Linked DNA regions of Homo sapiens: all the other regions are linked to region 2. The links are contacts of gene promoters, found by promoter capture Hi-C in human tissues and cell types (Jung and others, 2019). All regions are on one chromosome and are shown on one strand. Each heading gives the region's core, a stretch centred on a gene start or on the middle of the fragment in contact. The rest is flanking DNA. Distances are from core to core; before and after follow the strand shown.

The links. Contacts are between HindIII fragments. The study calls those that stand out against the background at their distance.
Region 1: a fragment that was not itself captured here is called in contact with the fragment with the promoter of RGS19 in region 2 in 1 of the 25 tissues and cell types used here (dorsolateral prefrontal cortex).
Region 3: a contact is called between a fragment that was not itself captured here and the fragment with the promoter of RGS19 in region 2, in 1 of the 25 tissues and cell types used here (lymphoblastoid cells).

The regions. Positions count from the first base shown.
Region 1 is chr20:63,699,406-63,703,645 of GRCh38, reverse strand. It overlaps ARFRP1 (ARF related protein 1), which reads left to right. Exons shown (of 8, transcript NM_001267547.3): 5 at 1,429-1,510; 6 at 1,746-1,816; 7 at 2,944-3,044; 8 at 3,116-4,240. The coding sequence ends at 3,203. Among named protein-coding and RNA genes, the nearest start is that of TNFRSF6B, 4.9 kb to the right of the region's middle. RefSeq lists enhancers at 4,005-4,084, 3,225-4,106, 4,155-4,204. The HindIII fragment of the contact is 4,084 bases long and covers 688-4,240 here.
Region 2 is chr20:64,077,404-64,081,429 of GRCh38, reverse strand. RGS19 (regulator of G protein signaling 19) reads left to right here and starts at 1,912. Exons shown (of 6, transcript NM_005873.3): 1 at 1,912-2,136. OPRL1 (opioid related nociceptin receptor 1) reads right to left here and starts at 1,348. Exons shown (of 5, transcript NM_182647.4): 1 at 1,078-1,348. RefSeq lists silencers at 764-937, 1,331-2,010. The HindIII fragment of the contact is 4,418 bases long and covers 1-2,588 here.
Region 3 is chr20:63,579,355-63,583,257 of GRCh38, reverse strand. No RefSeq gene overlaps it. Among named protein-coding and RNA genes, the nearest start is that of HELZ2, 7.1 kb to the right of the region's middle. RefSeq lists enhancers at 1-164, 165-665, 1,949-2,128. The HindIII fragment of the contact is 4,585 bases long and covers 1-3,903 here.

The sequences.
Region 1 (4,240 bases), core at 1,480-3,979, 380 kb after region 2:
GCCGCCCCTCCTGCCACAGAGGTCTCCACCTTAGGGTCCGCCTGCTCCCTTGTGTCAGCAGCAGACAGCCGGCACACTGCAGGGTCCCTTGAGGGGTTGGCGGCCTCTGTGTGGGACCTGTCTGTAGGCCAGAGAAGTTCCTGGGGGTGGGGGGGCCTCGCTACCTGCAGAACCCTGGAGGGCGCCTGGCCTTGGGCCTCCTCTCCACTGTGGGAAGTTCCTGGGGGTGGGGGGGCCTGGCCTTGGGCCTCCTCCTTTCCACTGTGGGAAGTGCAGGTGCACAGGCTTCTCTCCTCTGTGGGAAGTGCAGGTGCACAAGCTTGTCTGGCACTGGGATGGGGTTGTCTGGTACTCCCTGCTCAGACACCCTAAGGATTTCGGAGAGTTGGGCTGTGCCTCCTGGCTTCTCATGCTCTCGGGTGTGTGTGTCTTAACACACTGACCACCAGCTTGTCCTACCTGGTCAGCATCCAGTTCTAGGTCTCTGGGCACTCATGCCTGGACAGGAGAGCTGGCACAGCCTGGAGGCAAAGTGGCAAATGTGAGCTGTTGTCTGCTCCACGTGGACGCGGAGTTTGCTGTGTTTTTTTCTGATTGAGATAGAGGTGCACTCATCTGGTCCAGGGCTCAGCACTTGTACCTGAGGCTGCAGGGGCTGTGCCCTGTCTTGCCCAGGAGTGTTGCCAGCGAGCCCAGGACTGACCAGCCCAGGCTGCAGAGGTCTGAGCTCAGTGACTCTGGCCCTGTCCTGGCAGGGAAGGCTCGCTTCGTAGATGGCGCTGGTCAGTCTTATCCGCATGGCCACACTCCCTCCCTGTGCGAGGTGCTGGCACAGAGCCCCACAGGTGCACTCCCTCAACGGGCCAGGCTGTGGTCTAGGTTCCTCCAGCCCCCAAACCCTATCTTTTTTTTGAGACAGGGTCTCTCATTCTCACCCAGGCTGGAGTGCAGTGGTGTGATCAGAGCTCACTACAGCCTCAACCTCCCAGGCTCAAGCCATCCTCCCACCTCAGCCTCCCGAGTAGCTAGGACTGCAGGCGCACATTACCATAAGCTTTTGTACAGACGGAGTCTCACTGTGTTGCCCAGGTTGGCCGTGAAGTGGGCTCAGGTGATCCTCCTGCTTCTGCCTCCCAAAGTGTTGGGATAATAAGTGTGAGCCACCACGCCTGGCCCAATCCCTGTCTTTCACCTTTGGCCACCATCAGGCCAAAGGTTGCCGGCAGGTTCTCAGGAGCAGCGTCTGGGGACACCTCCACCAGATCTCCCCGCAACCCCAGAATGCATCCCAGAAGGGTCTTGCAGTTGGGGGCTGCCCTCTTGCCCCTTCCTCATGTGAGCCCCTCACTGTGGCCATGACACAGGCCTGGCTCTGCTGGCCCTTGGCAGGGTGGGGACTGAGCCCCAACTCCTGGTGCTTCCTCCCAGTATTATGCGGAGTGTCACGGCGTCATCTACGTCATTGACTCCACCGACGAGGAGAGGCTGGCTGAGTCCAAGCAGGCGTTTGGTGAGTGCGGCCTGGCTGCTCTGGGAGGGATGGATGGTGAGTGGGGGCAGGTCCAGCTTGGGCAGCTCTGTGCCTGGGGCAGGCTCAGTGTCTGGTCAGAAGTGCTCCTGCCTAGTGGGTGACGGGGGGGGGGGGGGCAGAGGGAGTGGCTGTCACAGTGTCCACGCCTGTGGGCCCCTGGGCAGTCAGAGGCAGGATGCTGGGTGTGAGGCGCTGCCTCTCCTGCCCTCCCCAGAGAAGGTGGTGACCAGCGAGGCGCTGTGCGGTGTCCCCGTCTTGGTGCTGGCCAACAAGCAGGATGTGGAGGTGAGCCCCACCCCTGCCTCCCGCAGCAGCTTCCCGAGTCCCCAGCCTCCCCCACAGCAAGGGGAGCAGGTGTGCACCCAGACACCCCAGGCCCAGTGACTGCCCAGGGGGTACAGAGCCATTCTCAAGGCCTGCCCTGCCCCCAGCAGCTTCCCAAGCCTGGTTCCTCTCCAGACCTGCTGCTGCCAGCCCTGGAGGTTCTCCCACCTCAGGGCAGGCGCCCAGAGGCCTCTTCCTGCTATGCAGGGCACCTCTCCCCAGGAGGGCGGCCGTGTCTCAGGAGTGTGTGGCCAAGCTGTGGGGACACCCAGGTGAAACTCAGAGCTCAAAGAAGTGATGCTGGGGCCCTGGTGGGAGTCAGCTCTGACCCTTACCTGTTCCTGCTACCCTTGGAGGTGGCATCTGTGCCAGCCCCACCCCCAGGGCAGCCCCTCAAGACCCCTCTGAGGTGCCACTGCCCCCGGGAGCACTGGCCACGCTGAGTTCTAGCTGTTCTCTTGGAGTGGCTTTGCACAGAAGCAGCCCGGCGTCCAGAGGGCCAGGTGAATCTTCACTTCCTGCCTTCTCTGGGGTGGCTCTGTTGCCCCCAGCCTGTAAGGCTGGCCTCCCCTACAATCTCAGCCGACAAGAGGGACATCTGGTACGGGGCAGGGGTCTCCCCTCGGAGGAAAAGGGGAGGGGAGGGCTGCTTTTTGAAGACTGGGCAGGTGGTTGTGAGCAGAAGCCACCATGACTGCAGACTGCCTCCATCACTGATGCAGGGCTCCCACCTCTCCATCATCCCCGGCTGTGTGGGCCCCTGGGACCTGCCTCCGCCACTGCCCAGGAGGCCTCAGTCCTCAGCGCCCCACCTCGGGGCTCAGGGTGTCCCCCAGGGAGGGGATGGGGGGTGGACTCCTTGGAGCCGTGTGGACGTCTAGTTTGTCTCAGGCACTACCAGCCATGTTCAGCCTCGGGCTGAGCACAGGGTCCTCACTGCTGTGGTCTCTGTGGGAGACACTGGGACCCTGGTGGAGCTCTGGCTGTTTCCCTGGGGTGAAGGGCATACGCCCTTCTGAGAGTCCCGGGCCCACAGGCAGGACAGGGCCAGACGTGGGGGCTGCTCCTCACGGCCTTACCTCCCCCAGACGTGCCTCTCAATCCCTGACATCAAGACGGCCTTCAGCGACTGCACCAGCAAGATCGGCAGGCGAGATTGCCTGACCCAGGCCTGCTCGGCCCTCACAGGGTGAGTGGGGGCTGCACCTGCGGGGGCTTTGGGGACCGAGACCCCCCGCCTCACACCCGCTGTCTTCACAGCAAAGGGGTGCGCGAGGGCATCGAGTGGATGGTGAAGTGTGTCGTGCGGAATGTGCACCGGCCGCCGCGGCAGAGGGACATCACGTAGGCGCAGCCGCGCTGCCGTCGGGACGGCTGGTCCCCTGGTGCTGGAGGAGTGGCCTCCTGTTGGCTCCCATGCTGCTGATCTGGGGGGTGGGTTTGCTTTGCTTTGGGGTTCTTCTATTTACTTTGTTTTCTCGAAGACAAACTTTCCTCTATGTCTGGAAAAGCGTAGGCATCCGGAGGCTTTGGAGGGGAGTCTGGCAGCCCGGCTGGCCCAGGCCCTGCAGCGGCAGCCTTTCCACAGGGCGCAGCGGCGGCCTTTCGAGGCCCTTTCTGGGGGGTCTGAGGGAGACCTGGTTGGGAATTGGGGCTCCAGTGCTCAGGCTGGCTTGGGCTGCATGAGGACAGCCCTGTGGGACCCTCGGGAGACCCCGTGGCTGTCTCCGCCCCATCGAGGAGGAGGCCCGTCAGCCATGGCTGCCATCTGGCTTCTGCCCTGTGACCCCGTGACCCCGTGACCCCGGAAGTGGTCTGGGGCTGATCTTGCCTTGAGGAAGACCCAGGCCATGTTCCCAAAGGCCAGCGGGGGCCCTGGATTGTGATGCAGCCTCGGGACAGGGCTGAGGCCTGCGGGGGAAGACCTATACCCCACGCCTGGGCCTGGCTTCACCTCACCCTAATCCCCCGGGAGGGAGCTGACTGATGCAAAAAGCTGAGGGGGCCTGCTGGGAGTGGCTGTTTTTATGCCCCAGCCCCGCAAGTTGGGGAGTGTTTGTGGGGGTCCAGAGCCCTCCCCCAGCCAGGAGAGAACCTCCCGGAGGGGTTCTCTGTGGGGCCCTGTGTCCCCTGCTCGGGAGTAAGGCTGGTCCTGGGGTCCTCCCTGCACGGACCCCACTGGGCCTGCCGAGTGCTGTGTTCTTCCTCAGTCTGGCTGTGGGCAGGAGCGGCCTGCCCAGTGTCACCCAGGGTGAGTGCAAAATAAAGACGGCGAGTGTGGCTCTGTCCATCCCTTCCCTCCTGGAGGGTGGAGGCTCCTGGCTGTTGGACACGGTGATGGTGTTACTGGGCTGCTCAGGGGCTGGTGGGCAGGTGAGGGGCTCC
Region 2 (4,026 bases), core at 663-3,162:
CCCACAGCAGAGACAACAGGCCGGCTCAGCGGGGTCAGCCTGGTTGTGTGTGGCCTGGGCCAGGTGCTGGCCCATCTTCGTTGAGCTTCCCTGACCTCACCTGTGCCCACCGCTCAGGAGTGTTATGTGGGCTGAATAAGTAGCAGCCTGCCTCTTGTCCCTGTGGGCTTCCTGGCCCCTGCCTTTCCTTGCCTGGCCTGACAACATGGCAGTCACAGGGTTCTGGGTACAGCTTCGAGAGGCAGCCTGTCTGTCCTCCAGGGCCCTCTGACCTCTGACCTCCCCCTTCGGGCCCCCGCCCCCGCTCAGCAGCGCAATACCCTCCCCTCCTCAGCCCTCCCCCCTCTCACCCAGGCCTTCCCTGCCTGCTCCCCACAACTCACTCTGCGCCCCCCAGCATAAGATCCAGGCTGATCTATGTTGCTGGCTTCTGGTCCTACTGCCTGGCCCACAGGGGCACCCAGATACTGATACTTGTCCGTTGAATGAGGAATACAAGTAGAATCTCCAGCTGCCTTTGCACCCCTCAGAGTTCTGTGAAGGTGTAAGGTGTGCACCTGACCTGTGCAACTGGAAGGCATTTTATGAACAGATCCCGACACTGGGAACTATCCGGGTGGAGTGCTTGTGCTGGGGAGGACAGGAGCTGCACACAGCCGGGCCAGGGGAGGGGCGGGGGGCACAGATGCTCTGCAGACACTTCCAGAGCAGGGTCAGGGCCACCCTGACACAGGGCCAAAGCATGCTGCGATGAGAAGCCTAACCCACGTCTGTACCGAGTCATAAAGGATGAGAAGAGTCGGCCAAAGGGACAGGGCGTTCGTGGCAAAGGGGACAGTGTGGCCTTAAGCTTTAGGACATCTTGGGACACACGGGTCAGCAGGGACTCTGCCAGGCCCCACAGGAGACATTCGGCATGACTCCGGATGCAAGAACCCGCACCCCCAGTTCTCCCCAGCCCCGCAGCACAGGAATCTCCCCCTTCCTTGGGAACCCCCCACAGCACAGACAGGCGGCTCTTAACCCAGTTTTACAGACGCGGCTCACGGAGGCGAGGGGTGGGCCGGGCTGGCGTACCCGCCGATCGGTCCTTTGCAGCAGCCTCCTCTTTCCCAAGCTGGGCAAGCAGCATATGGGGCCCAGCTCTCGTGCCTCCACTGTCGTGGAAGTCCCACACGGATGGCAAAGCAGGAACGGCCCCGCCGAGCAGAGTCGGGGGCCACGGCCACACCCCCATCTACTACCGTGCGGCTCCGTCCGCCCGGGAGCCAGGGCTCCACTATGAGCACCTCGACTCTCCGGGCCACCCCCAGGCGACTGTGGGGGCCGACGCGCGGGCGGGGCGGGTGGGGTGCGGAGCCGGCCGAGCGCGGGGCGGGGCGCGGCGGGCGGGGCGGGCCCGGCGACCGCCGGCGCGAGGAAGTCCCGGCCCCTGGCTTTGGGGAAGTGCCGCCGAGGCGCCTGCGCACTGCGCCCCCGCGCCCCCTCCCCGACTGTCGGGCCGGACCTTGGAGCGCGCGGGCCGGCGGCGGCGCGAGTGGCTCGGGAGCGCGGCTGGTGAGTGCGCGCGCGCAGCGCCGGGGACAGCGGCCCTGCCCCTCCCGGCCCGGGCCCGGGGACCGTGCTGGGCGGGAGCTTCGGGAGCCGGCGCACGGGACTCGAACCCCAAGGGCTCCCGCCGCCAGGTCCACGTGGACCCTGGGCCGCAGTGGAAGTGGAGCCCGCCCCCCGCGCGTGGGGGAGGGGGCGCCGCAGCCGGGTTCCCCTTTTTCTGGAGCTCAAAGCCTGGGGAAGTGATTGCTCAAAGGTGGGGGCCGGAAGAACCCAGGTTTCCGCGTCTCCCTCCCCCTCTCAGCCCGGTGAGGAGGGGCCGGGGCGGGACACCCTGTCCGCCCCCGCCCCCACCCCGCTGGATCTGGCAGCCACTCAGCCCTTCGAGCTGTAGGGGAGGCGCTGCGCCCCCGGCCCCAGCCGATCGGGGGCTCCTGGCGCTAGCCTCCCTCCAGAGCGCCGCAGGAGTCCCTCCTGCCGTCTGACTTGAGTCCCTGCTGCTGCAGTGCACGCCCCTTCGGCAGCCAGGGTGGGGCCCAGACCCAACCTGGCCCCTCCTGCCCCCACCCCGCCTTTGGGTCGCTGGTGAGTAGGGAGCTTTGAGGTAGGGGTGGGGGCGTCAGAGGCTGAAGAAAGAGGCACCTGGAGGAGAACACAGGCTTCTCCAGACTGGACCCTAACAGCAGAGAGAGGAGCGTGGTGGGTGGGCCACCACCACCATTTCAGAGGTGGGGAGAGCTGGCCTTCCCTGGAGGGGCCAGGCCAGGGCTCGCCCACCAGCCAGATGTGGAGGGTGGCAGATGGGAAAGGCCCTGGGTAGGAGCTAAGGACTGAGAATGGAGCCCCTCTTCAACCCCCCTCCCAAAGGTTATGACATTTTTTTCTGGGATTGTCACATTTTCTTATTCTTTTTTTGGACTGGGCAGGCTCTGGGACGTTCTTTTTCCTTCTGTGGAGCAAAGCGGCAGCCACTCCCAAGGGATCCTCTATCCCCAGAGAGCAGACGTGCCGCCTATCCAGCCTATCCCATCCCAGACTTGGGGGCCAAAGCCTGGGAGGCTGGGGAAGGGGGTCCCCAATGCCAGGTTGACAAGCAGGAGGACCCTAGTTGAGACTCTGTATCCCCCAGGAGAGACGGGGGGAGGGTAGCCTGGGGACATGGGTTGCCCCAGTTGACCTGAGAAGGGTACAGGAAGCCAGGTCCAGGGACAGGTGACCAGGTCCAGGGCCTGCAACTGGGAAAGAAGGGGCTGGCTCCCTGCTCTGCAGCAAATGCAGCCCCTAGCACCCCGGCCCTGCACCCCTAAACACGTCCCCTCCTCCAGTTCAGAGCTGGGGTGGAGATGGTAGCCCAGGGGGACAGTCTCAGGGGTGCTAGAGTGTGGGGGAGGACCCTGGGTGGGGACAGAGAGGAGGAAGAACTGCTGCCTGGGGAAGCCACAGACAGCCCCGTCTGGGTACAGCTACCAAACCTCAGGTTGCCACGCCCCTTCCTTTCCCTAGAAACTTGACCCCTGAAAGAAAGCCCAGCTGCAGGGCTACTTTCGGTCTCCTCATCTACTTGCTAGGAGCCCGTGGGACCCCCAGTCTCAGAGGAAACTGGGCCGGTGGTGAGGGGCCAAGGTCCCAGGGGATGCTGCACCTGCCCCAGACTTGGGCCAGGGCAGTGGCCTCTGCATGCCCAGGCCTCGGGGGTATTGGGGGCCCTAAGAGTGCAGAACTCCAGCACTGTCTCTTCTGAGGGCCATTCACACACCGTCCCAGGAGGCCAAGAGAAGCCAACCAGCCAGAAACAAGCATTCAAAGGCCACGAGCTAGGGGAGGCGTGGCGGGGGGATGAAGATTGAGAAAATAAAGTAGAATCAAGTTGTGAGCTTCCTGGCCAGGGAGGGTGGCGGCACATGAGGAGGGTGGCGGATGTGCACGGAGGCCCCTCCCTGCCCTGGGCAGAAGTGGGCGCAGGTGTTCACAACTGCCTCCGGGGCACTGATTGGCCCCCCTGTACCATCGCCCAAGGAGACTTGGGATTCGAAGTGGCATCTTAGGTGGCATGAGGGCCACTCACAGCTTTGGCGCTCCTGGTGCACCTCCCCTGCAGACGGTGCAACCAAATGCTGGGAGGGACATGCACCACACCACACCCCCCTCAGGGACTCCGAGGCTTCGACTGGGGAGCAGGGTGCCCCCCACCCCTGCCACCCCCACTTCCCTGGCTGGCGCACCCTGTGGTAGGGCCTTGGTTCCACAGCAGTTTCACAGCCTAGAGGCAGTGGGCAAGGAGGGAGGGAAGTCTTGGGTGGGAGGTAGCAGGACCAAAGAACCATGTTTGGGGGGCATGTCCCTCCTCACCGGGGCCCTGCCCCCCTTCCCACACCCTCAGCAAGTCCAGCCTGAGTCCCACTTAAATCCTCACTGCTGCAGGTCTAGCCTGCTGCCCCTGGCTGAGACCTCTGGGACCCACAGACAGACCTGGAC
Region 3 (3,903 bases), core at 912-3,411, 500 kb after region 2:
CGGTTTTGGTTTTGTCTGAGTAGTGTTGTGTCGTACAGACGTTCCACGGTTTGTTTATTCAGCCGCCTGGTGATACGCATTGGAGCTGTTTTCAGTCTGGGGCTGCTGGGAATGGGGCTGCTGTGAACCGGCGGGTGTCTCTGTGTGGGCGTCAGCACGCTGGCCCCAGCAGGAGGGGCTCCCTGGCCCAGGCGTTGTGAAGAATGAAGATCCTTTTTTCATTTCTCTTGGGTAGATTTGCAGGAGTCGAACTGCTGGATCCTGAGACAGATGTTCATTTAACTGTATCGGAAATGACCGAGCTGTTTTCCAAGGTGGCTGTGCCGTCTTGTATCCCCACCAGCACCAACGGGAGCGGTGGCTGCTCCGCACCCTCCGCGGCACGAGCCGTCCTCACTCTGGACGCAGTCGGTCTGCCCGTGTGAGGTGGTTTCTCGCTGGGTCCCATTTGCGTGTCCCAGTGACTGGATGGTAAGCACCTTCTCACGTGCTTTTGGTCATTTGTATATGTTCTTGTGTGGAGTGTCTGTTCAAATATTTTGTTTGTTTTTAAAAACTGGACTTTTGAGTTTTGAGATTAAAAAAAATCTGCCTTCTAGGAGTGGTGGCTCACCCCTGTAGTCCCAACACTTTGGGAGGCCGAGGCAGGAGGATCACTTGAGGCCAGGAGTTCAAGATCAGCCTGGGCAACATAGTGAGACCCCATCTCTACAAAAAATTTTAAAATTAGCTGAGGGTGTTGGTGCATGCCTGGAGTCCCAGCTACTTGGGACGCTGAGGTCGGAGGATTGTCTGAGCCCGGAGTTCAAGGCTGCAGTGAGCTGTGATCACACCTCTGCGCTCCAGCCTGGGCAATAGAGCAAGACCGTCTCAAAGCATAATAATAATAACAAAGATAAAAACATTTTCAGTTTGCATATAGTTCATCAGATATGTGTATTTTGAATATTTTTGTCTCAACTAATAGCTTGACTTTTCATTTTTCTCACTGGTACAGACATTTTTTACTTATATAACCTTGTTTATCAATTTTTTTCTCTTATATTTCTACCTTTTATGTCTTTTTAAAGAAATATATGCCGGCTGGGTGCGGTAGCTCACGCCTGTAGTCCCAGCACTTTGGGAGGCCTAGGCGGGTGGATCACGAGGTCAGGGTCAGGAGACCAAGACCATCCTGGCTAACATGGTGAAACCCCGTCTCTACTAAAAATACAAAAAATCAGCTGGGCGTGGTGGTGGGCGCCTGTAGTCCCAGCTACTCGGGAGGCTGAGGCAGGAGAATGGCATCAACCCGGGAGGCAGAGCTTGCAGTGAGCCAAAATCACGCCACTGCACTCCAGCCTGGGCGACAGAGCAAGACTGTCTCAAAAAAAAAAAAAAGAAAAGAAAAGAAAAAAATATATGCCTATCCCAAGGTTGTGAAGATTTCTCCTGTTTTCTTCTAGAAGCGTTACAGTTTAGCTTTGATGCTTAGATGTTCCATCTTGAATTAAATTTTGTGTGCAATGCGAGGTGGGGCTGAGCTTCGTTTTTCCCGAAACTTTACTCCGTGTTCCAGCTGCCACTTGTTGAAGACTGTCCTTTCCCCGCCTCAGGCCCTTCGGGGACCAACAGACCGCAGACCTGGGTCTGACCCAGGCTCCCTTCTGTCCTGTCTTGTCTCTCCCGACATCTGCAGTAACGTTCTGGACTTGAACTTCTGGGCGTCAGGAGCAAGCCACATTCCTGTATGTCCAGGGAGAAGAGGGGAGACCGGAAGGCTGGGTGGAAAGGCCCAGGTTTTGGCTCCCTCCTCCAGGGCAGCCAGGCTGGGCACAGCTGCCCCACGGGGCGCACAGGCACCTGGCTCTGTGTCAACCAGATGCCCAGAGCAGCCCCAGGGCAGGCCCACACCCACTCCAGACCCCAACATCTCCAGCCCCAGCAGGAGTGTGGCCCCTCCCCCTGTCATCCCGGAGAGGCGGCCACATGGCAGAGGGACACTGGGGGCCAGTGAGGACTAGGAAGGTCCCTGCCAGGAGACCTCAGGGATATCTGATCAAGCCTCAAGCTTTGGGGGTGCTGTGGGGGCAAGCAGAGAAAGGCACAGCCCCTGGCCAGGCTCTCTGTTGCCCCTGGGAGGCCTTTTAGATCCTGCAACACCTACCCCATGCCTCCTGCTCAGGGCCTGGCCTGAGGGCTCCAGCAGGCTTCAGTGTGGGGGAGAGGTGAGCAGGGGCTGAGAAGGTGGCTCATCACCTCTAATGATGTCAGAAAACTAGGCTGTTTCTCCTGCACTCTCACAGCACAGCTCACTGCTGACACCAGGTGGGGGTTCTGTTCCAACAACAGATTAGTCAGTTTTGCAGCCGACGCCGGCTGGGCGTGCTCCAGTTTAATTCCGATACCATCTACCTGAAGACACCATCTACCTAGAGACGTCTACTTGGAGCCATTGTCTGCTGCCCTGTGCCGTCCGCTATCACCCGAACCCTGCGGGAAAACCCACACACCCTCCCCAGCATCACAGTGCAGGTGGAGGTCCCCAGGGCTTAGGGCCAGGCCTCAGTTTACCTGTGACTGTGGGCCATGTGCTCTCGGGCAGGAACTGACGGCCTCTGGGTATAACTCACTTAAGCAGGTCTTTAACACCCAGTTCCCATCTTTCCAGAGACCCTCCCGGGCGCCCTCCCACCAGCCAAAAGCTCACACCTTGAGTGGAGGAGGTGATAGGGTCTGCAGTGGGAGGGATTCCAGATCAACCTGGAGACATTGTCCACCCATAGACACCATCATCTACCTGGAGACATTGTTGTCAACCTGGAGACACCATCAATTCATAGACATTGTTGTCAACCTGGAGACATTATTGTTAACCTGGAGACACCATCAATTCATAGACATTGTTGTCAACCTGGAGACACCATCAATTTATAGACATTGTTGTTAACCTGGAGACATTGTTGTCAACCTGGAGACACCATCAATTCATAGACGTTGTTGTCTACCTGGAGACATTATTGTTAACCTGGAGACACCATCTATTCATAGGCATTGTTGTCAACCTGGAGACACCGTCTATTCATAGACATTGTTGTTAACCTGGAAACATTGTTGTCAACCTGGAGACACCATCAATTCATAGACATTGTTGTCTACCTGGAGACACCGTCTTTTCATAGACATTGTTGTTAACCTGGAGACATTGTTGTCTACCTGGAGACACTGTTGTCAACCTGGAGACACCATCAATTCATAGACATTGTTGTCAACCTGGAGACACCATCAATTCATAGACATTGTTGTCTACCTGGAGACATTGTTGTTAACCTGGAGACATTGTTGTTAACCTGGAGACACCGTCAATTCATAGACGTTGTTGTCTACCTGGAGACACCATCTAGCTGGAGACGCCATCTGTCCTTAGACATCCTCATCTACCTGGAGATGTCCACACAAGGCTGCTGCCCACTCCCCATGCCAATCTCAAGCCCCGGGTGCTTCAGACCAATTGGCTATAAATTGAGGTTCCTAACCCCCATATTTGGGTCAGATTAATTTCCTAGAGCAGCTCACAGAACTCAGGGAAACATGTTTACCCATTTATTATAAAGGACGTTACAAAGGACGCAGATGAAGAGATGCGTAAGGGGAGGGGCGCAGAGCTTTCACCCCACAAGGGCACCCCGTCCAGGAACCTCCACGGCTCTCTGAGCCCTGTCCTTTTGCGACTTCATGGAGGCTTCATTACCCAGGCATGATTGATTACGTCACTGGCCACTGGTGAGGACCGCCTTCAGCCGCCTCTCCCCTCCCCTGCCTGGAGGTTGGGGCAAGGCTGCAAGTACCACCCTCTACTCCTGCTGAGGCCTTTCTGAGGACCAGCCCCATCCTGAGGCTGCCTCCAGGCTGCCAGCCTTCGGT